Regions from separate parts of the Homo sapiens genome. Here all the other regions are linked to region 6. Evidence: promoter capture Hi-C in 16 types of primary human blood cells and fetal thymus (Javierre and others, 2016). All regions are on one chromosome and are shown on one strand. The core of a region is centred on a gene start or on the middle of the fragment in contact, and the rest is flanking DNA. Distances in the headings are between cores, read along the strand shown.

Region 1 (2,864 bases), core at 49-2,548, 340 kb after region 6:
TTGAGACAGATCTGACCCAGAGAGCAAGGCAGCAGTGGAGCTTGGTGTAGCCCGGGGCCACCACCTGCATTTCCCCAACTCTAATTGGTGATGCCGTGTAAGTGGGCTGTGTGTGGTTGGGTGAGCAGAGCAGGCTTCAAAGAAAAGGGCCTCCACCCAGGAGTCGGTGAATTTTACTGTCACCCGACATCAAGGGAGTATCATATGATATTTGGCAGGTGGCCCAGAACAGCTCAGCTGCCGGAGCTTGTTGTAGAGTGGACAGGTTAGCATTTGGGGGATTCCCCAGAGTGTGGCAAATGGAAGCTCAGGCACCTCTCTTAAAGCCACATCAAAGTTAAGTTGCTAGAAAGCTAGCAAGACTCCTGCAGGTAACAGTCCCTAAGGGGAGCCTGAAAGTGCGGGATGGGTGAAGGTGGGAAGGAAAAGCAGGTTGGGGATTTTCCCCTAACCAATATTACTTGTTTTGACTATTGCTACATAACAAAGTGCCCCAAAATGTAGAGGCTTAAAAGAACCATTTTATTAGATCTTATAATTTTGTGACCCAGAAAGTTGAGTAGAGCTTGGCTGGGTAACTCTATTTTTTTTTCCTTTTTTTTTATTTCTTTATTTTTTTGAGACAGGGTTTTTCTCTTGTTGCCCAGGCTGGAGTGCAATGGCGGGATCTTGGCTCACCACAACCTGCACCTTGCTGGTTCAAGCAATTCTCCTGCCTCAGCCTCCCGAGTAGCTGGGATTACAGGCATGCGCCACCACACCCGGCTAATCTTGTATTTTTAGTAGAGACGGGGTTTCTCCATGTTGGTCAGGCTGTTCTTGAACTCCCAACCTCAGGTGATCCACCCACCTCAGCCTCCCACAGTGCTGGGATTACAGGCGTGAGCCACTGCACCCGCCCTGGGTAACTCTTCCAAGTGGCATCAGTGGGGGTCCCTTGGTGCTGTTGAGCTGGTGGATACCTGGGGCTGAGCAGAGAAGGCTGGAGAGCTAGGCGCAGCTGGAACCATCTACCATTCCTGCATGTGGCCTCACCAGCATGGTGGCTTCATGTGTCGCACTTCGAAAGTGGTGGTCAGAGCACCAAGTGAGAATGTTCCAAGAGACCCAGGTGGAAGCTGCAAGGCTTCTTATGAGCTACAAGTCCAAGAATGTCACTCCAGCCACATTCTATCAGTCAAGCAAGTCAATGAGGGATTTCAAGGGAGTGGAATTGGACTTCATCTCTCAGTGGGAGGAGCAGTAAAGAATTTGCAGCCATATTTAACCTCCCATGATACAAGAGAGCTAGGAAAAACTTGCAAGGCTCATTGTGGGATTTTTTTACTCCATACATGTTTGTTGAGTTCCTGGTATGTGCCAGCTACTGCCCTAGGCACTGGAGAGACAGACCAATGAACAATACAGAGACATGATCCCTGCCCTTATGGAGACTGTAGTCTAAAAGAGTCTAACAAATAATTACGCAGTGCCTGGCACATGATATGTGTTCAGTCAATGTTGAATACTGGTATTATTATTGTTAAATAATCATTAGGGGCCAGACACATTGGCTTACACATGTAATCCCAGCACTTTGGGAGGCCAAGGTGGGAGGATCACTTGAGGCCAGGAGTTTGAGACCAGGATGGGCAACACAGCAAGACTTTGTCTCTACTAAAAATAAAAAAATTATCCTGGCATGGTAACATCCACCTTTAGTCCCAGCTACTAGGGAGGTTGAGGTGGGAGGATTGCTCAAGCCTGGGAGGAGGTCAAGGCTGTAGTGAGCCATAATTGCACCTCTGCACTCCAGCCTGGGTGGCAGAGCGAGGCCCTGTCTCAAAAAATATTAGTAATAACCATTGGGAAAAAAGATTTGCCATAAGCAGATAAACAACAGTGTGCCAAAGGGTACAATCAACAAAGAGGATTACATGTTTAGGAGGTTAACATTTAAGCCAAAGATGAGAAGTAATGAACTAGGGGAAGGGGGACGTGAGAGAGTTTTCAGGCAGAGGAAACAGTGTGTGCCCCACAGTGCAGTGGGCAAGGGCAGTGGGCATCGAGTTAGGCTGGGCAGGTGGCATAAGGACAGATCACCCGAGGCTCTGCCCTTGGGTGTTCATGTAGATCCACCTTCCACCTTTTCCACCTGCCTTGTGCTTCTGAGGACTGATGTGTATGAGCTGCACCCACAGTTCCCTTTTCTCCTGGTTGGCGACAGTGGAGGCACCAGCAGGAGTTTAGACAGGGGAACTCAGGGGTCGGGGGAAAAAGAAAGTGGAGTATGTATTTTTCTGGTTTCGTCTCTGCTGGACTGGGGTGAAAGTAACCATGTTCCTCTGCCCACGGCTGTGTGCCCTGCCAAGCAGCCCTCTCCTAAGGCTTTAGGTCTTACTAGGTTCTCCAATGGCTCTTTCTCCTATGTGCTCAGGCCTAGGATTAGTAGCAGCTTCCCACTATTGTTAGATCAGGGATACTTTACCATCCCTTCTTGCATTCCCTATATCCTGCCACACCTTTGTAAATGGTCTCTTCCTTGAATTGTCATCAATTACCTTTTTGAGAGAGCCACTTGATTCCTACTGGGACCCTGAATGATAGAGCTATAGCAGCTAGGATAATAATTCGGAACTTTATCCCAATAGCAATTCTAAGAAAATGATAACCTTCCATTCAGTGGTGTGCTAGTAAATTTTAACAACCAGGTCTCTAAAGGAAAAAGCTCTGATTTGCAGTGTTTGTCTTGAGGTCCAAATACTTCCACTTTGGCTGATTTCAAGCTTGCAACTTTCCTAAAAATAGAACACAAACTGGTATGAGCCAGCTCCTGCATACTTCTGCCCAGATCCAAAACCAACTCTCCTATCTTCCACCACTAG
Region 2 (2,878 bases), core at 114-2,613, 290 kb after region 6:
GGTTGAGCATGTGTGACTGAGATGTATCCTAGATACAAAGCGAGTGCAGAGTCCCAATCCGCAGTTCCGTTCTCCTGCAAGTAATTCTCAGGGTGTGCAAGAAACCTCCAGGAGGGAGTGTTGAGTACACAGGGAAACGCTCAGACACAGAGACTGACTGAAAATGGGAAACAGAAATTCTAGGCCTAGGGGACAAAGGAAAGAGGGAGCTAAAGACTCCCTCTGACATTCCCATGGATAGTCCTTTGGGGAGAATGCTACAGGTTTTGAGGGACAACCCTTGAACCAGGGACAAGGAAAAGCAAAAGATAATAAAGCTTTGCTGTTTTATCTGGCCCAAAGACTCCATTCATAATCCTTCAGTCTTTTGGCCTAAGTTTGGTTCAGACAAGTGTTGGGTGTGCTGAGCTTTAATTCTCTATGTAAATAATAAAACCCCATCCTCACAAGAAGAGATAGGTTATGCTGTCTGCCAGATCAAGGAATTAGTTCCCATGTTCCCCCTCAAGAAAGGAGAAAAAGAGCCTAGTAAAAGCTCTGGGACCCCCCTATCATGCTTGCCTCCTCCATACGTCTCACAAAATAGGGGACAGGAAGATCAAGGGGCAACAAAGGGATTAGGGGAAGATTAGAAACCATGGGGGAGCCAAACCATCTACTTCTTTAAATCCTTATCCAAATCTAAGAAAACAATTACAACAGTGTAAGAGGACTACTGAGAACTTCCCTATCCCTTCCGCACAGCAAGCATCTAGCATGTTCCCTCTTAGGGAAGTTTCCATGGGACTGGGAGAGCTTGGCTTTGTAAATCCTCCTCTTATAAGTACTGATGTTAGGAATTTCAAGAAGGAAATGAAACCACTCCTAGAAGATCCCCTCGGTTTAGCAGACCAGCTGGACCAATTCCTAGACCCAGCTTTTACACCTGGGCCGAAATGATGTCTATTATGAATATCCTGTTCACAGGAGAAGAAAGGGGAATAATTAGGAGAGTGACCATAACCAACTGGGAGAGGCAACACCCTCCCAGGCAAGAAGTCTTGCCAGCCAAACAAAAATTTCCAAATGTCAATCCCGAATGGGATAATAATGATCCCAGGCACCAGGCCTGAATGCAAGACTTCAGGGAACTAATAATTAAAGGGATCAAAGAGTCCACTCCTAGGACACAAAATGTTTCAAAGGCATTCAAGATTCAACAAGAAAAAGGAAGAAACTCCCTCTGCATTCCTACAGAGGCTCAAAGATCAGATGAGAAAACACTCTGGATTCTATCCAGAGGACCCATTAGGGCAAGGCCTTTTGAAGGTCTTTGTAACTAAGAGCTGGCCTAACATTATAAAACAATTACAAAAGATCGATGGATGGAATGAGAAACAACCAGGAAAAGTAGTTTGCAGAAAACAATATCCCATTTCTATTGAAGGGAGAAAAGGTCTCCAAGCAGTAATAAAATGATAAAAGATGGACTATTAGAACCCTGCAGGTCACCATACAATATTCCAATTCTCCCAGTCAAAATATCTGGTGGGTCATATAAATTGTTGCAAAATCTAAGGGCTGTAAATCAAATTGTCCAGACCCACCACCCTAGGGTGCCTAAACCCTACACCCTCCTTAGTAAGATACCCTATAAACATAAGTGGTTCAGTGTGGTGGATCCAAAAGACACATTCTGGGCATTTCCCCTAGACTTTAGGAGTAGGGACCTCTTTGCCTTTGAATGGGAAATTCCTATAACTGGGAGAAAACAACAGTACCACCAAACTGTGCTGCCACAAGTTTTCACAGAAGCCTCAAACTTAATTGAAAAAGTCTTAGAAAAAGTCCTGAAGGAATTCCAACCTTCCGAGGGAACCCAGATGTTACAACATGTAAATAATCTTTTAATTTCTGGGGAGAGGAGGCCCGAGGAATCAAAAACCACCCTAAACTTGCTTAATTTCCTAGGAAAAAGGGGATTACGAGTCTCTAAGAACAAATTGCCATTTGTAAAAAAAAGAAGTTAAATATTTAGGAGACCTGATTAGTGAAGGGAAGTAGAAAATAAACCCAAAGAAAATATCGAGGATAGTGGCTCTGCCTTTGCCTTAGACAAAGAGAAACCTCCAAAAATTTTTAGGTTTAACTGGCTATTGTAGGTTATGGATGAACTCATATGCTCAAAAGACAGAGATTCTGTATCTCAAGTTACTAAAGAGGAACCCAATCCCTTGCAATGGTCCCCAAAGGAAATTCAGGCAGTAAAAGAGCTAAAGCAGGCCCTCATCACAGCCCCGGCCCTGGCCCTTCTGTCTTTAAAGAAACTATTCCATCTGTTCGTCACAGTAGATCAGGGCATGGCCCTTGGAGTGCTCACTCAAATCTGGGGAGGGAAGAGGCAACCTGTTGCTTTTGTCTCCAAGCTTCTCAATCCTGTCTCTCAGGGGTGGCCTGAATGTGTGCAAGCAGTAGCTGCCACAGCCCTGCTGGTAGAAAAGAGTTGAAAACTAACCTTTGGTGGGGCCCTAATAGTAAGCATTCCATACCAGGTCAGGAATGTATCAAATTGAAAAGCCGGGAGATAGTTAACGGATTCTCAGTTTCTAAAATATGACGCCATATTACTAGAAAAAGATGATTTGGTTGTAACCACAAATGCTTGCCTGAATCCAGCCAGTTTCCTATGGAAAGGAGAGGAGAACAAAGAGATATCAGACTGTAACTGTTAGATATCATAGAATACCAAACCAAAGTTAAATCAGACCTCAGGGAAGCTCCACTACATGATGGGACAAGGCTGTTTGTGGATGGGTCATCCCAATGATAGATGGCAAGAAAAATAATGGTTATGCTGTCCTTAATGAAAATAAACACTCCTTATGTGAGAAGGGTAGAT
Region 3 (2,947 bases), core at 76-2,575, 500 kb after region 6:
TTTAGGTTGTGGCAGGTCCTCATGAAAAACAAGAGAAAGATCAGCTCATTGCAGCACTGGTTTGTTAATAGTAACAATAGTAGCATTGTTTAATTTGTGTAATTGTATAATTTTCTAGGCTCTTGCTGTAAGTCAGCCCACTTTTACAGATGAGGAACCAAGACCCAGGGAAGATGGTAAGTCTGAACCATTTACAGAACATATTACTGCTACTGCGTTATGCTGAGACAGCTGTAGGAGTGGTTTTCTCTAAACCATTCTCATTTTACTTGAATTTAGATTATCTGATGACTTATAAAAAGCTTTTCCATAAACCAGGATTTGCTATGGCAGCCCTTGACCTTCAGACCTTTATTATGATTGTTAATACAAAAGGCTGTATCAGTTACCTGTTGTCAGACCAAGCTGCATTATTCTGCGTTATTTGAAGTTGGATAACCTCAAAACCGTGGCTTAAATCACTGAAGATTTATTTTGCTCACGAATATGCAGGTTGACTGGGGGCTCTGGACTCTTGGTGGGCTCACTCCCTTGTCTGCCCGTGGTCAGCTACGCATTGAGGCTGTGCTCCCACATGTCTGAGGGTTGGCTGCTCATTGGCTAATCGTGGCTGGGGTTGACTCCTACATCTGTGGTCAGTTGGTCAAAGAAAGGCTGGCTAGGCTAGGATGGTCTTGGCCAGACAACTTGGCTGTACTCCATGTGGTCTCCCTGACCCCAACAGGATAGCCTGGGCTTATTCAGATGGCCACTGAGCAGGTTTCCAAGAGAGTGAGTAAAAGTGCCCGAGCTTCGCAAAGCCCAGTCTCAGACCTGGCACATCATTTCAACAGTGTTCTGTTGGTCAGAGCAAGTCACAGGCCAGCCCAGATTCCAGGTGTGGGAAAAGGGACTCCTCTGGATGGGAGGAACTGCAAAGTCACTTTATAAAGGGCACAGGGACAGTGAGGGGTAGAGAATTGGGACCATTTTTGTAATATTTCTACCAAAGAGTCTATAATCTTCCCTTCTTGCACATATTTCCACCTCAATTTTCATCTTCAGTAAAACACCCACCTTCTCCTCCAGATACACTCATACAAGTACGCAAAAACACACGCAACAATCTTCATGGCCACAATGTCTGTGATAGCAAAAAACAGGAAAGGATTTGTTCAAAGTGGGTTGGATTGAAGCAGTATATGACGGCACCCTGGGAGACTATGTGACGAACACTATTCACACCCATGCGACATTTCCTGACAAAGACGCTGGACACAGCAGTGGCTGCCTTGGCAGATGGAGCTGGTGGGGCTTTGGAGTTGGTGGCAGGAATAAGATGCTTTTACTTTTCTCTTTATACTTTTCTATGTCGTTTGAAGTATTTTTAGTAGGTGCCAGTTTAACTTTTAAAATGCGAAAACTAATTTCTAAAAAGACATTCACATCATCTTACGGCCATCTCAAATTCCCAGTAAAAAACCAAATGCCCAATTCCTATATGCTGGAGTCATTACACAGTTGTTGATGTCTTTCTGCATTCACCAAAGGGGTGACCTACTTACCAGCAAAGCTGAACGGCATAAAGCCATGAGCGGGGAGGGCCTGGGAGGAAGCCACAATATGGCCAGAGTTCCTCTTCCCCTGCCTAGGGGCTGGCCCAGCTAGGGCCCCCTGTCCTCCTGACTCAGGGCCTTTGTGAGAAGAGCTATATCCAGATCATATGGTGCAAACTGACCACTGGAACATCAGTGCTTGAACTTCAACTGGGGAGAAAGTACAACAGCCTCTAAGAGATTGGGTTCTAGAATCAGAAAGACGTGGATCCAACTCCTAGTGCCACTACCTACTTCCTCTGGCTTGGGACAAGTCACTTAGCTACTCTGTGCCTCAAAATGTGATAGCTGTTATCATTGAGAAAGACATCCACACCTTGTCCAATCCCTTTTACTCTCTTGGCTCTTTTGATTACTTCTGGGCATTAGTCAGCTAGTCAAGTTGGGGGACCGAGTGATTGGGATCATTGAAAGATGAGTTAATTTACAGAGTAGCCACCTTTGGTGATTTTAAAATATGGCCCTAGAGTTATTTGACACCCTTCCAATAAGAGGTGGAGTCTCGAGTCCCTTGACTCCGGGCTGGCCTCTGGCTGCTCTGACCAGTGGAAGAGCAGAGGGACACTGTGTGGCTTCCGGTGCCATGTCAGAAAAGGACCTGCAACTTCCCCTTGGTTCTCTTGCACAGGGGAAGCCAGCTGCCATGTAAAAGGTCTGAGTACCTTGAGCCCTCCCTGCTGAAGCTGCCGTGTGCTGGGGCCCTGCATGGCAGCCAGCATCAACTACTGGCCCTAAGCCAGTAGTTAAGCTTTCCAGTTAAGCTTTCCAGTGGCCACAGCCCCAGCCAATATCTAACTGCAGCCACATGAGAGACCCCAAGCTAAATATGCCCTGCTGAGCCCCTTCCAAATTCCCGGCTCACAAAATGGCGAATAAAATAAAATGGTTATTGTTTTTATACCACTAAATTTTGTGGCAACAGTTACCAGGACACAGCTGAATTGAATACAAGCAAGGTTCTTAGAATCACTTCTTTCATTTAATTGCAAATGAACCCAAAAGAGATCCATTTACATTTTTTTGTTGTTTTATTGGATTACTCCTGATACTTTATCATAGCAAACCTGACACAAGTTTCACCTACACATCCTCTTTCCACATCCTCACTTCCCATTGATTTGCTCCTCAGCCAATCACAGTCTGCCTTGTTGATGCCTGGGAAGCTGCTCCTAGCCAGGTCGCTGCCAGCCTCCACTCTCTCTTGACCTCAGCTCTTCCCATGCTCATGGCTACCATCTTCCGGGTAGCATCCCCAGACTTGCTCTCTGCTGATCCTCCCCTCCCAGGGGCAGCACCACCAACCACCCAAACGTGCAGATTCAAAACCCAAGTCATCCTTGATGCCTTCCTTT
Region 4 (3,223 bases), core at 328-2,827, 420 kb after region 6:
CAAACTCACCATGGCCTCCACCAATGCAGAGAGCCAGCTCCAGAGAATCATCCGAGACTTGCAAGGTATGGTAGGTTGCTGGGCAGGCTGAGTTTGGTTTTGAGGGACTTGTGGCAGGGCTTTTTGCTGTTGCCAGTTGAAATTCAACCCTTTCATTTTTGTTCACACAACGAGTAATTGGAGTCCTCAGGTCACATCATATTGAAATATTTGGGTCTCAAATATCCACCTTGTGTAAGGCTTGGAAAGCTTGCCTGGTTTCCTTTCAGAGAACTGTAAAGCCAGTTTGTAAACAAAATCATACACCCGGCTCCAGGACTGGGTCTGATTTCCATTAGTGCACACATGTGTGTTTTGAAGCTGCCTGTTAAGTCTTTGGCTAAATCCCAAACTTCTGGGCTCTGATGAAGTTGGCTTCTTTGGAAAAGAATGTTCTTTCTCCCACTGAGCAGGAAGGACAGAGACCCACCTATCTTGTTTTGCTGCCCAACTGGGTCCTGGCTGGCGGATGGCCCATTGCCTGGGATGCACTGTAGGTCCAGTCCTGCTGCCTCCCAGACTTCCCTGAGCTCAGCGTTGTCCACTGAGAGAGGCTATGACTTGTATCCCTTATCTCACTGGAGAAAAGCAAGGCAGAGGAAGGTGCAGATAAAGTTTCATAGACTCAGGAGAAACGGACTATTTTCTTTTTGGCTGCAAATTCCAAGTTTCACTCTTTCAGATGCTGTCCCAGGGGTCAGAGTTTTTATAAGTTTTCCATCCCCACTCATCACCAGTGCTGACCTTTAAGCTCTTCGGAGCTCTAGGACACTTGATACTACACAGTCTGAAGCTGACCACTTCCTCCATGCCTGCAGAGTCCGCTGTGACACTTTTCTGACAGACTAAAGGCCCAGGCTTCTAACTGCTTGGGCACCACAAGCAGTTATCTCCCATACCAGGAGCCATTGGCCTAGCATGGCCACAGTGCAGTTCTCATTCTGAAGTTCCAAAGTCAACAAGATAAAAAACATTTTCTCAGGCTTTTAATCTTGTGTCTACCATGCCTTGGGCCTCTGATAGCTAACAATTTCATGGCATTTCATGTGCACCGGGCACTTTCTATACCAACAGCCTGGCACCAGTCTATGCTCCTAACCACTCTAGTCTACTTTCAGCTAAGACATTAGATGCTTTTTTAAATCTACACAGAGAGGCAGAGAAAGTGAAATGCCAGTCTCTGCAAATCTGAGTTTGCCACTGGCTTTAAGAGGTCTCTCCATAAAGTAGATAGTCTTTTCTGTGTTTCAATATCTGGTTCTTGAGGATAACTTTGAGACCTGGAGGTCCTTATTGGGAGGGAAGAGGGTGAAATAGGGGACCCTCAGGTAGAGCTTCTGATCTAGACCATTGTCTATCCTATGTACCAGCTGAGTCTGGCCACCCCCAACATCCTGGGCTGATTTCAATGTCCTTTACATAGGCCACAGAGCACTTTGGTGGGAATTCTTGAAAGGTGCCACTTTCTCAGTACCCTCCACTTTCATCTGTTGGTAAACGTCTTAATAAGCATACAAATCTACAGCATCTACCATGAGAGTGGAGTGTCCTTAACTGAGGCATCTTTGTGTGGTACACAGCCTTCACTCCTCTGCAGGGCAGCCCACTTATCCTCTTGGTGACAGCAGTTTCAAAGACTTTGGAGTCAGGCAGGGGTGTGCTCAGCTTCTGGCTTCTCTTTTAACCCTCGAAAATGTTGGACAAGTCCCTTCACCTTTCCAACGCACAGTTGCTTCCTTCATGTGCCAGGTGGGTTTGATGATAACACCCACTTCTCAAGATTATTGAAAGAATCAAATAGTAATTCCTGCAAAGCTAATATTACTTAGAATATCAGAGATTAGAGCTGAAAATTTCATATTTCATATCCAGAGTCTACTCCTTCAAAGTTTCAGGAGTTCCCAGATCAGGTTGCGAGTGTTTACCTGGCCTGAGGAGGCAGGAGGGTGGAGGAGGAAGGCTCTTTGTCTCTCCCAGGCCCCTGGCTCACTGGCTGTCAGTGCCAGCCATTGCAGACACTTCTAGCAAGGTACAGTGGACAACAGTCACTTGTAAGAATCAGTCCCAAGAACCTGTCTCCACCATTTGCTAATCTTTGCCTGAGGGGTCGTGTTGATTACATTTTCAGCCATCTTAGGCTTGGCTTCAGTCCTGGACAGGTCTGCTTCAAACCATGGTTCTTGGGAGCAGGGTTTAGGAATTTAAGAATTGCCAGAGAAGCAGATAGTTTTGTGAAGCACATCCCACCATCTCTGCTGGGAAAAGGTTTTCCAGGATCTAAACCAAATCCAGTGTCTCGATAGTCCCTCTGTCCCACAGCAGAGGCAGTGAGTGAGAGTCAAAGGTGGGTTTTCCTCTTTTCTACACAGGGAGGTGAATTATCTTAGAAGTTAAGAGGTGAGCTCTGGAGTTAGACAGCTCTTGAGAAAACCAGGGTTCTTATTCCAGCTCTGCTGTTTGCCACCCATGATCTTTGGCCAAGTGCTCTGATTTCTCTGTACACTCCTCATCTGCAAAATGGGGATAATCATAGCAGACTTCATAGATTCTAAATTGTACTTTTTTTTTTGACATTTTAACAGCTCTGAAACTGTAATGTATATTATAATTAATTGTATCTTAGATTCATCGAAATAAGGCAATCCCTGCCTCTCAATGCCATATTAAATGAGAAAAATACATGTAAAGGCCCAGCCCCTCAAGGACACTCAGTTAACAGAAGCAGGTGCGGTTGTCATTGTTGGAATTGTGATTGTCACTACTATTATTTGCACATACTGGGTATTCTGATCCTGCGCTTACCTATAATGAGCAGTAGGATTATAGTGAAGAACCTGAAATGTGGCTAGAATAAAGGTAAAGCTTTCTGGAAGTCAGTATTCAGGGACTGAATTGATTCATCCACACAGCAAACATTTGTTGTCCAGCTACTATATGCAAATTACTAGCCCTGGGTGGTGGACAGACAAGGGTGAACAAGAAATGTGCCCAGTCAACAAGCATTGTAAAGTATCTGTGAGCTCTCAGGACATTTCAACACTCCCTGACTTGGAGTTATATCTCATGGATACTTACATACCCTTTTATGTTTCAGAGGTGCTTTGTATCACTGACCACTTGCTCCTCATGCTTCCTGGATTATTTCTGCTTCTCTGTCTGAGTTTAGTCACTATCTGGTTACATG
Region 5 (2,849 bases), core at 213-2,712, 470 kb after region 6:
GTTGAAAAAGGATTGTTCTGATTGCCATGTAGAGAATAGATGATGGAGGATGAGAGCCAAAGTGGGGAGACCAGTTGGGAGGGTATTAGAGGAATCCTTGTTCCTTGGACCAAGTGTTGGCAGAGAGGGCAGAGACCAGGGCAAATTCTGGACCTATTTTGAAGGTGGTGCAGACAGAATTTCCTGAAGGTTTAGATGTGGTCGTGAGAGAATAATCTATTCCACCAGTCCTCAGGTGACCTTGGACCACACTTGGACAAACACTATATTGAATTATGGGGCAGACCAAGCAGGAAGAATTAAATAGCTAGCCCACTCACAAGCTGTTGATGCTGGGGGAGTATGAAGTGTCAGGGCCACCCTTTCTGGAGAGCAACTTGGCTGCAGAATGTACCAAAAGTTCAAGAATTGCATTTTCTCTTTGATGCAATGGGCCTGTGTCTGGGAATTTATCCTGAGGAAATAATGACTGGAGGTGCAAAGATAAAGCTACCAAAATGTCCCTTGCATGCTACTCACAGCAGTGACAATTAGAAATAGTAACAGAGAACTTGGGTGGTCGTGAATGGCTGTTGAATTTTGCCAGATCTTTTTTCTACATCAATTGATAAGATCATAGGCTTTTTCTTCCTTAGCCTGTTGATATGATGGATTGCATTGATTGACTTTCATATATCAAACCAGCCTTGCATACCTGGGATAAATCCCACTGGCTGTGGTATATAATTCTTTTCACACACTGCTGGATTTGACAGAATATCTAAAGGATGTTTGCCAGATATAGAATTGAAAGTTCTTTTCTTTCAGCATTTGAAATATGTGTGCTGCTACTTCCCTCTGGCCTCCATGGTTTTAGATGAGAAATCCCCTGGCATTCAAATTGGTATTCCCCCATAGATAATAAGTTATTCCTCTCTGCCTGCTTTCAAGTTTTTTCTTTGTCTTTTGTTCTTAGACGTTTAATTATGATGGGTCTTGGCATGAATTTCTTTGGGTTTTTCCTATTTGGGGTACACTCAGCTCTTAAATCTCTAGGCTTATCTGTCATCATATTTGGGAAGTTTATAACCATCATTTCTTTGAACATTTTTTCAGATGCACTCTATTTTCCCTCTCCATTTGGGACTCCAGTGATACAAATGTGAGATCTTTTGTCCTTGCCTTGTAGATTCCTCAGGCTCTGTTCTTTTTCCTTGCACCCTGTCCCCCAATTCTCTTTTCCCTGTGTTGTTCAGATTGAGGAATTTCTGTTTTTCTCTCTTCAAGTATAACTGTCATCTTTATTCAGCTATTGAGTGTCCAGTGATTTTTTTTTTATTTTGGTTATTGTAATTATTTAGTTCTAAAATTTCCATTTGGTACTTTTTTATATCTTCTGTTTCTTTGGTATGAGTTTTCCACTGTTTTATTGTTTCAAGAACATTTAAAATTGTTACTGAAGCATTTTTTTTGATGGCTGCTTTAAAAGCCTTGACAGATAACTCCAGCATCTGGTTGATGTCAGTGTCGGCTTCTGTTGATTGTCTTTCCTCATGCACACTGTGATTTTCCTGGCTCTTAGGATAACGAGTGGTTTTTTATTATGTGTAGGTGGGGGGCTCAGAGACGCTAAGCTGTTGTGATTTTCCTCATATTCTGGGGGTCCTTAATCAGTCCGCCTTCCTTCTCCTGCCCTTCACTTTTACTACAACTGCTGAATCATTTTCAGTTTTTTTAGTGGCATTTAATGGGAAAGAACAGGGAAATGTTTGAAATCATTTATAATAAAACTGGTAAAAAACCTACCCTCAAGTAAAGGAATGAGGAAAGTTATGAGATTTAGAAATAACTAGACCACACAGATCCAAGGCAGGTCTTTGAGGAGAATAAGACAGTATGGAGAATAGGTCGGCTGGACATGGGAATAAAATGCAAGGAGAATGACAACACCTTGAAAGTTATTTTTTTCTGCCTCTTTCAAAGAGAGTGACAGCAAGCTAAGGATTAGCAACAACATCATGAGAGCATCTGAAAACATGTTAAAGGTTGGGATTATCTCAGAACACTGCAAATGTGTTGGTACCCCTTGACTCATGTAAACTGAAATTTCTTAGGTCACTCAGTGGAATTCACATCTGTGACATGAGCCTTATAGACAATAGGCATCTTAAGATTATATTATATTTGAGCAAACCTTTGATTTGTTTTTGTTAAGATCTGCTTTGGAGAGGCTGAGTATTGTCCTTGTCACTGAATAGATGATGTCTAGATGATGTCTAGACTAGATGATTGAGGCACAATCCAAATACCTGGGTGCCAGGGGAGAATTCTGGAGCATAAAATTATAAAATGCTCCAGCATTAATGTATTAATGGGGCATTATGTCAGGGTAAGTGACTTTTTACATGGTAATATGGTAAGATTTCCACATTACAAGAAAGATGTCTGTTCCAGAATGGACCCCCCAAACCTGCCCTCAGATTCTTGAAAATTGTAAATGTTGGTCGAGGGTTCTTAATTAGAAATAAAATTTAACACATGGAGAAGTATCGCATTGAATTGAATTCTCACAAAGGTGAGTATTGGAGCTGTTCTTTAAAGCATCCTGGTTTTTTAATCATTTCTTACCGTTCTCATTAGCTTTGGGGAGTCTGTCCATTCATCTCCACAGCTTTGGAGGCAGATGAACGCTCAGCACCACCACTTGCTGCGCAGTGTTGGGCAAGTTACCTAACCTCTTTGAAGTTAATTCCCTCCCCTGTGTTAAAGGGGATAGTAATACATTTTCTCCACAAAAGGCAGTTTGGTATGGTAGGAAGATGATGGCTTTGCCTCAGACCTGTGTGAGCCTGGATTGAATTTCTCAATCT
Region 6 (3,078 bases), core at 279-2,778:
AGGCTATACCTCTGCTCCCTGAACCTTAGTGTTTTTCTCATTTGCACATAGAGAAATGTAAAAATAAATAGGGGGAGGACAAGAACCGAAATGTTCATTTTTAAAGTCAGAAAATGCTTCCAGAATGTCTCATCAGCTGGCAGGAAGGGAGTTCTGCTAAATGCACACTTGTATTTCTGGTCTTCCATCTGAGGTTTATAAACCACGAATTCAGGCAAAGTGGCCAGAATGGCTGTTACCCATGCCAGGACACTTGTAATGATGCCACAGGGCACCCTCCTCCTGGCTGAGAAAAAGTTTCCCTTGTGCAAAAACACTAGGTACCTTTGCACAGTCAGAAGGCAATTGAAAAATGTCTCACTGTACAGGCCCACGAAGTACAGTCCAATGAGAATTTTACACATGGGATCGCCCCCAGCATGAGCCCAGAAGGGCAGGGTAAGCAAGAAACACAAGTTAGAAACTGCCAAGTTTAGAAGATAGATATTTTCCACGCGTTTGAGTCCTTTATATTTTACCAGGATAAGCACAACCAGGAGATTGTCCAGGACACCGATCACAAACACAGCAGAGCAGAGTGATGGCACCAGCTGGGCTGAGAGTGCCTGGGCGTCATACTTGTCACATTGCTCTGCCTCATCGCTCTCCAGTTCACCTTCTATGAGGACATCATATTCATCCTCTGGTGCCAGCGTGTAATTGGCCATCTTCAGACTGCCCTGTGGAGAAATGGGAGATGATTTTCCCCTCCGACAGCTGCCTTATCCTGGAGGAAACAACAAACTGGACCTGGATTCATACAGCCCCACTTTCCCTTTCTGGAGCTACATTTTAGCCAGAGTAATTCCCTATTTCAGAAGACTGAAATAAACATTTCTTTAACGTGTGCCCACTTCCCCAGAGCAGCACCATTCCCAATCTAGTTGTTAAGCATGTAAGTGCTTAGCAGTGTGCCAGGTGCCACGGGAAATAAAGCTGGCATGACACCGCCTTGGTAGAACTTACCTTCTTTTAGCAGAAACAGGACTTGCCTACATGAACACAATATGTAAGAAAATATATAATTAAAGAGAACCAAGTACGATGGCTTACTTTTAAGAAACGGGTGTAGATCATAATTTCTGCATTTTAAAAAGTTTGCTCACCCCCCGAAGCAGCTTCCTGTGACAGCTGAGACGTTTTTCTCTCGAAGGGTATAAATAAATGTTTGCAAAAGTGAAACCATGCTCAGCATCAACATGGCCATAAGGGGTTAAATACATAGATGACACACAGATGACTTACCACTGGGCTGAGCTCCTGCAGGGGAAGGGCGCAGCCTCCAGACCCAGCATCCGGGAGCTGTGGGAATGGCCCCGGACAGTGGATGCCCTCCTTTTGATCAGACTGCTCCTGACCCTGAGGGGCACGAGAAACCACTGTTGATTCCCCTGGTGGCTCTACCCGCCCCACTCACCGAGCTCAGGGACCAACTGAAATAAAGTACTCAAAAGCTCCCCCAGGCCTCCAGAGGATCTCTGAAGCGTCTGAAAGCAACCGGGAAGTTGTTTCCTCCTCCCTCTGGCCCTGTACCCCGCCTTTGATTTCCCTGTGACCTTTGACAGCCGTCTTCTGGCCTTCTGAGATAAGGGAACTGTGTCACTGCCGCTCTGAGTGGTAGCAAGGAAGTGATGTCAAGGTGCTGAGAACTGCCAAGACGCTCTGGCTTGTGGCATGTGACACTCTGAGTAGGTAACAGGTACCAGCTACTGTCAGCAGGGAGGAAGGTATGTGGTGACCACGAGTCCAGACCTGAGGGTCCTGACCCTCTAATGCGGCCTCTCACCAGTGTTCGCAGAAACCCACCCGCTGATTCAATACGGGGACCAGGAACCTGCCATGACAGTCACGGTGTGTTTGGGTTTTTATTGTCATTTTTGAGGGGCACTGTGTGCTTTGGTTAAGACTGAGGCCTCAAAAGAGAATTTTAGGAAAATGGAAGCCACAGGGTGATGTCAGCTGGGAAAAGGCCAGGGGCAGAGGTGGGGTCTCAGCGGCAGTGAGCATAGGGCTGCCCTGGGTGTCAACACTGAGGAAAGCAAAGGGGTTTGCAAGCAGCCAGAAGTGATTGGTGCTGTGACTCATGGGGGAGCTGACCCCACTCGGAAAAGGAGAACCCAGAGGAGGAAAATCCCGTGGTGATGACACAGAGGCGACATCAAGTTGGGTGGGAGAGAATGTGAGGAGGACAAGTTTAACCCCAAACTGAGGCTGGGGGCTAGGGTAGGTTTGAGTCCAGAGAGAAGGAAATTGAGAGAACAGCCCAGATTTGGAATGGTGGGAGGAGGCTGTGGGGAGGGGAGGCTGTGGGAAGAGAGTGGGACGGGGAGGGCACGGTCTGGAAGAAGGACGAACCGAGAAGAGGAACTTGAAAATAATGAAAAAATCTAGATGAGCTTCTCTTGGGTCAACGACTCAGCAGCTGTGACTAACCTAATTTGGGGATCAGACCTATTTGCTTAGAATTTATATATTGATTAAATGACATCCTTTTCCCACCAAAGATGTGTCTGAGGTAGGATTGAATACAAAATTTGTACCTGTCAAAATAGAAATAGAAAATTAAGAAACTAGCCTGGCACTGAGGCGCATTCCTACAGCCCCAGCTACTCAGAAGTATGAGGTGGGAGGGTCGCTTGAGCCCAGGAGTTTGAGGCCAGCCTGGGCAACATAGTGAGATCCCGGATCTATAAACAATATAAAAATTAGCCAGATGCAGTGGCAAGTGCCTGTAATCCCAGACATTCCAGAGGCCAAGGTGGGATGTTCACGTGAGCCCAGGAGTTGGAGGCTGCGGTGAGCCATGATCATGCCACTCTGCACTCTGGCCTGGGTGGCAGAGCGAGACACTGTCTCTGGAAAAAAAAAAGAAGAAGGAGGAGGAGGGGCGGGGAGAGGAAGGGAGGAGAGAGAACTATTAAGAGAAAAATAAACACAGAAAGAGCCCAGACAAATATGTGATTGAGCATTAAATTTAACTCCACGTGTGCCGACAGACAAGGCAGAAAGAGAAACACAATGATGTTTGATGGCAGAGGA
Region 7 (3,281 bases), core at 739-3,238, 440 kb after region 6:
TCCAACTTTGACCTGAACAGCCCCCTAAACAACGAGGCATTGGAGGGCTTTGATGAGATGCGACTAGAGCTGGACCAGTTGGAGGTGCGGGAGAAGCAGCTACGGGAGCGCATGCAGCAGCTGGACAGAGAGAACCAGGAGCTGAGGGCAGCTGTCAGCCAGCAAGGGGAGCAACTGCAGACAGAGAGGGAGAGGGGGCGCACTGCAGCGGAGGACAACGTTCGCCTCACTTGCTTGGTAGCTGAGCTCCAGAAGCAGTGGGAGGTCACCCAGGCCACCCAGAACACTGTGAAGGAGCTGCAGACATGCCTGCAGGGCCTGGAGCTAGGAGCAGCAGAGAAGGAGGAGGACTACCACACAGCCCTGCGGCGGCTGGAGTCCATGCTGCAGCCCTTGGCACAGGAGCTTGAGGCCACACGGGACTCACTGGACAAGAAAAACCAGCATTTAGCCAGCTTCCCAGGCTGGCTAGCCATGGCTCAGCAGAAGGCAGATACGGCATCAGACACAAAGGGCCGGCAAGAACCTATTCCCAGTGATGCGGCCCAGGAGATGCAGGAGCTAGGGGAGAAGCTTCAAGCCCTAGAAAGGGAGAGAACCAAGGTCGAGGAGGTCAACAGACAGCAGAGTGCCCAACTGGAACAGCTGGTCAAGGAGCTTCAGCTGAAAGAGGATGCCCGGGCCAGCCTGGAGCGCCTGGTGAAGGAGATGGCCCCACTCCAGGAGGAGTTGTCTGGGAAGGGACAGGAGGCAGACCAGCTCTGGCGACGGCTGCAGGAGTTGCTGGCCCACACGAGCTCCTGGGAGGAGGAGCTAGCAGAGTTGAGGCGGGAGAAAAAACAGCAACAGGAGGAGAAGGAGCTGCTGGAGCAGGAGGTCAGGTCTCTGACCCGGCAGCTGCAGTTCCTGGAGACCCAGCTGGCACAGGTGAGCCAACATGTGAGTGACCTGGAGGAGCAGAAGAAGCAGCTCATTCAGGACAAAGACCACCTCAGCCAGCAGGTGGGTATGCTCGAGCGGCTTGCTGGGCCGCCTGGCCCAGAACTGCCAGTGGCAGGTGAGAAGAATGAGGCCCTGGTCCCTGTGAACTCCAGTCTGCAAGAGGCCTGGGGGAAGCCAGAGGAGGAGCAGAGGGGCCTGCAGGAGGCACAGTTAGACGATACCAAGGTGCAAGAGGGCAGCCAGGAGGAAGAGCTCCGGCAGGCCAACAGGGAGCTGGAGAAGGAGCTACAGAATGTGGTCGGGCGTAACCAGCTCCTGGAGGGCAAGCTGCAAGCCCTGCAGGCCGATTACCAGGCTTTGCAGCAGCGGGAATCAGCCATCCAGGGCTCCTTGGCCTCCCTGGAGGCCGAGCAGGCCAGCATCCGGCACTTGGGTGACCAGATGGAGGCGAGCTTGCTGGCTGTAAGGAAGGCCAAGGAGGCCATGAAAGCCCAGATGGCAGAGAAGGAGGCCATTCTACAGAGCAAGGAGGGCGAGTGTCAGCAGCTGCGGGAGGAGGTGGAGCAGTGCCAGCAACTGGCAGAAGCCCGGCACAGAGAGCTTAGGGCTCTCGAGAGCCAGTGCCAGCAGCAGACCCAGCTGATTGAGGTCCTCACAGCAGAGAAAGGCCAACAGGGAGTTGGCCCACCCACTGACAATGAAGCCCGTGAGCTGGCTGCCCAGCTAGCCCTGTCTCAGGCGCAGCTGGAAGTCCATCAGGGGGAGGTCCAACGGCTGCAGGCTCAGGTGGTGGACCTCCAGGCCAAGATGCGGGCAGCCCTGGATGACCAGGACAAGGTGCAGAGCCAGCTAAGCATGGCTGAGGCCGTCCTGAGGGAGCACAAAACCCTTGTGCAGCAGCTGAAGGAGCAGAATGAAGCCCTTAACAGAGCCCATGTCCAGGAGCTGCTGCAATGCTCGGAGCGTGAAGGGGCACTGCAGGAGGAGAGGGCCGATGAGGCCCAGCAGAGGGAGGAGGAGCTGCGGGCCCTGCAGGAGGAGCTGTCCCAGGCCAAATGCAGCTCCGAGGAAGCACAGCTGGAGCACGCTGAGCTGCAAGAGCAGCTGCACCGGGCCAACACAGACACAGCTGAGCTGGGCATCCAGGTTTGCGCACTGACCGTGGAAAAGGAGCGAGTGGAGGAGGCACTGGCCTGTGCTGTCCAGGAGCTCCAGGACGCCAAAGAGGCAGCCTCAAGGGAGCGAGAGGGCCTGGAGCGCCAAGTAGCTGGGCTGCAGCAAGAGAAGGAGAGCTTGCAGGAGAAGCTGAAGGCGGCCAAGGCAGCAGCCGGCTCACTGCCTGGCCTGCAGGCCCAGCTCGCCCAGGCAGAGCAGCGGGCCCAGAGCCTCCAAGAGGCTGCACACCAGGAGCTCAACACCCTCAAGTTCCAGCTGAGTGCTGAAATCATGGACTACCAGAGCAGACTTAAGGTAATCCTAGCTTCAACCACTTGGGCTCTACCCCTCTCCCTGGGCAGGCCTGGTGGGTCCATGGGAAGATGCACCTTTAGCCATGAGGCAGGTGAGGGCTGGAGAATGTACTGTGGGTGCAGGCAAACACCTTGTGGCCCTTTCCTATCACAGCTCCCAGTAGCATCTTTCTCTCTGCAGGAATATGTTAGGCGCAGAACATTGGGAGTGATGCCTTAGCCCAGAAGTTTAAACTCAAGACCATTGCAAACAAGATTAGCCCACACAGAAGTTTGTAAAACTAGTAGCCAACATTGAAAGAGCAGGGTGTTTACAAATATAGTTTGAGGGCTTTTGAAAGCCTGCGTCCTCACCTTGCCCCCGCCCTGTGGCAGCAGTCAGCAGGAACCTGAGGGTGTCTGCCCACTTTAAAGGAGGCACACATCCTCTGCACTTTTCCTTACACTGGTTTCTGTACTTGCCCAGCCCCGCCGGGCATGTGAGTGTGAGAGCCCTGACTTGGCCTCTAAAACCCCTGCAGAGGGCCAGCAGTTCACAGCTGCCTCATGTCCTATCTCTGAGTTCTTAATGAATAACCAACCCCATCAGGTGCTCTCCTGACAGCAGATACAGGGAAGGGAACAAGCTCACTTCATTTTTACAAGGCCCTTGGGACAGACAAGTTAATGAGATGAGCAGTTACTATGTGCCTTTGATAGTACACAAAGATGAGGGGTTAAGGACTGTCTAGAGTGAAGACAGCGCAGAATGGCCTGGGGCTTTGGTTTCCAGGGCTTGCCACTAGTCTGTCTGCATCAAGGTCTGTGCACTCTCAGGCTACTCCTAACCCTCCTCTCTGAGGCAGCTCCACCGCAGTGCCACAGATGTGC

Evidence for each region. The method cuts DNA at HindIII sites, captures the fragments that hold promoters and counts their contacts. A CHiCAGO score of 5 or more calls a contact.
Region 1: a fragment that was not itself captured here is called in contact with the fragment with the promoter of CCRL2 in region 6 in 1 of 17 cell types (neutrophils); the score reaches 5.8 in neutrophils.
Region 2: a contact is called between a fragment that was not itself captured here and the fragment with the promoter of CCRL2 in region 6, in 1 of 17 cell types (M0 macrophages). The highest score is 5.4, in M0 macrophages.
Region 3: a fragment that was not itself captured here is called in contact with the fragment with the promoter of CCRL2 in region 6 in 1 of 17 cell types (neutrophils); the score reaches 6.1 in neutrophils.
Region 4: a contact is called between a fragment that was not itself captured here and the fragment with the promoter of CCRL2 in region 6, in 1 of 17 cell types (megakaryocytes). The highest score is 5.2, in megakaryocytes.
Region 5: a contact is called between a fragment that was not itself captured here and the fragment with the promoter of CCRL2 in region 6, in 7 of 17 cell types (neutrophils, monocytes, M2 macrophages and 4 more). The highest score is 12.0, in neutrophils.
Region 7: a fragment that was not itself captured here is called in contact with the fragment with the promoter of CCRL2 in region 6 in 1 of 17 cell types (monocytes); the score reaches 5.1 in monocytes.

Annotation. Positions count from the first base shown.
Region 1 is chr3:46,062,847-46,065,710 of GRCh38, reverse strand. It overlaps a transcript of XCR1 not described here. Among named protein-coding and RNA genes, the nearest start is that of XCR1, 37 kb to the right of the region's middle. The HindIII fragment of the contact is 2,939 bases long and covers 1-2,767 here.
Region 2 is chr3:46,115,063-46,117,940 of GRCh38, reverse strand. No RefSeq gene overlaps it. Among named protein-coding and RNA genes, the nearest start is that of XCR1, 89 kb to the right of the region's middle. The HindIII fragment of the contact is 2,088 bases long and covers 320-2,407 here.
Region 3 is chr3:45,910,349-45,913,295 of GRCh38, reverse strand. It overlaps a transcript of LZTFL1 not described here. Among named protein-coding and RNA genes, the nearest start is that of CCR9, 25 kb to the right of the region's middle. The HindIII fragment of the contact is 2,041 bases long and covers 305-2,345 here.
Region 4 is chr3:45,981,698-45,984,920 of GRCh38, reverse strand. It overlaps FYCO1 (FYVE and coiled-coil domain autophagy adaptor 1), which reads left to right. Exons shown (of 18, transcript NM_024513.4): 2 at 1-65. The coding sequence starts at 11. Among named protein-coding and RNA genes, the nearest start is that of FYCO1, 13 kb to the left of the region's middle. The HindIII fragment of the contact is 2,652 bases long and covers 252-2,903 here.
Region 5 is chr3:45,932,461-45,935,309 of GRCh38, reverse strand. All of the region lies in intron 15 of FYCO1 (FYVE and coiled-coil domain autophagy adaptor 1), which reads left to right. Among named protein-coding and RNA genes, the nearest start is that of CXCR6, 9.6 kb to the left of the region's middle. The HindIII fragment of the contact is 3,840 bases long and covers 1-2,849 here.
Region 6 is chr3:46,405,709-46,408,786 of GRCh38, reverse strand. It overlaps CCRL2 (C-C motif chemokine receptor like 2), which reads right to left and starts at 1,528. Exons shown (of 2, transcript NM_003965.5): 1 at 1,285-1,528; 2 at 1-719. The coding sequence starts at 707. It overlaps CCR5AS (CCR5 antisense RNA), which reads left to right and starts at 1,721. Exons shown (of 4, transcript NR_125406.2): 1 at 1,721-1,890. The HindIII fragment of the contact is 3,797 bases long and covers 1-3,078 here.
Region 7 is chr3:45,965,408-45,968,688 of GRCh38, reverse strand. FYCO1 (FYVE and coiled-coil domain autophagy adaptor 1) reads left to right here. Exons shown (of 18, transcript NM_024513.4): 8 at 1-2,412. Among named protein-coding and RNA genes, the nearest start is that of CXCR6, 24 kb to the right of the region's middle. RefSeq lists enhancers at 1-374, 375-1,014. The HindIII fragment of the contact is 2,826 bases long and covers 576-3,281 here.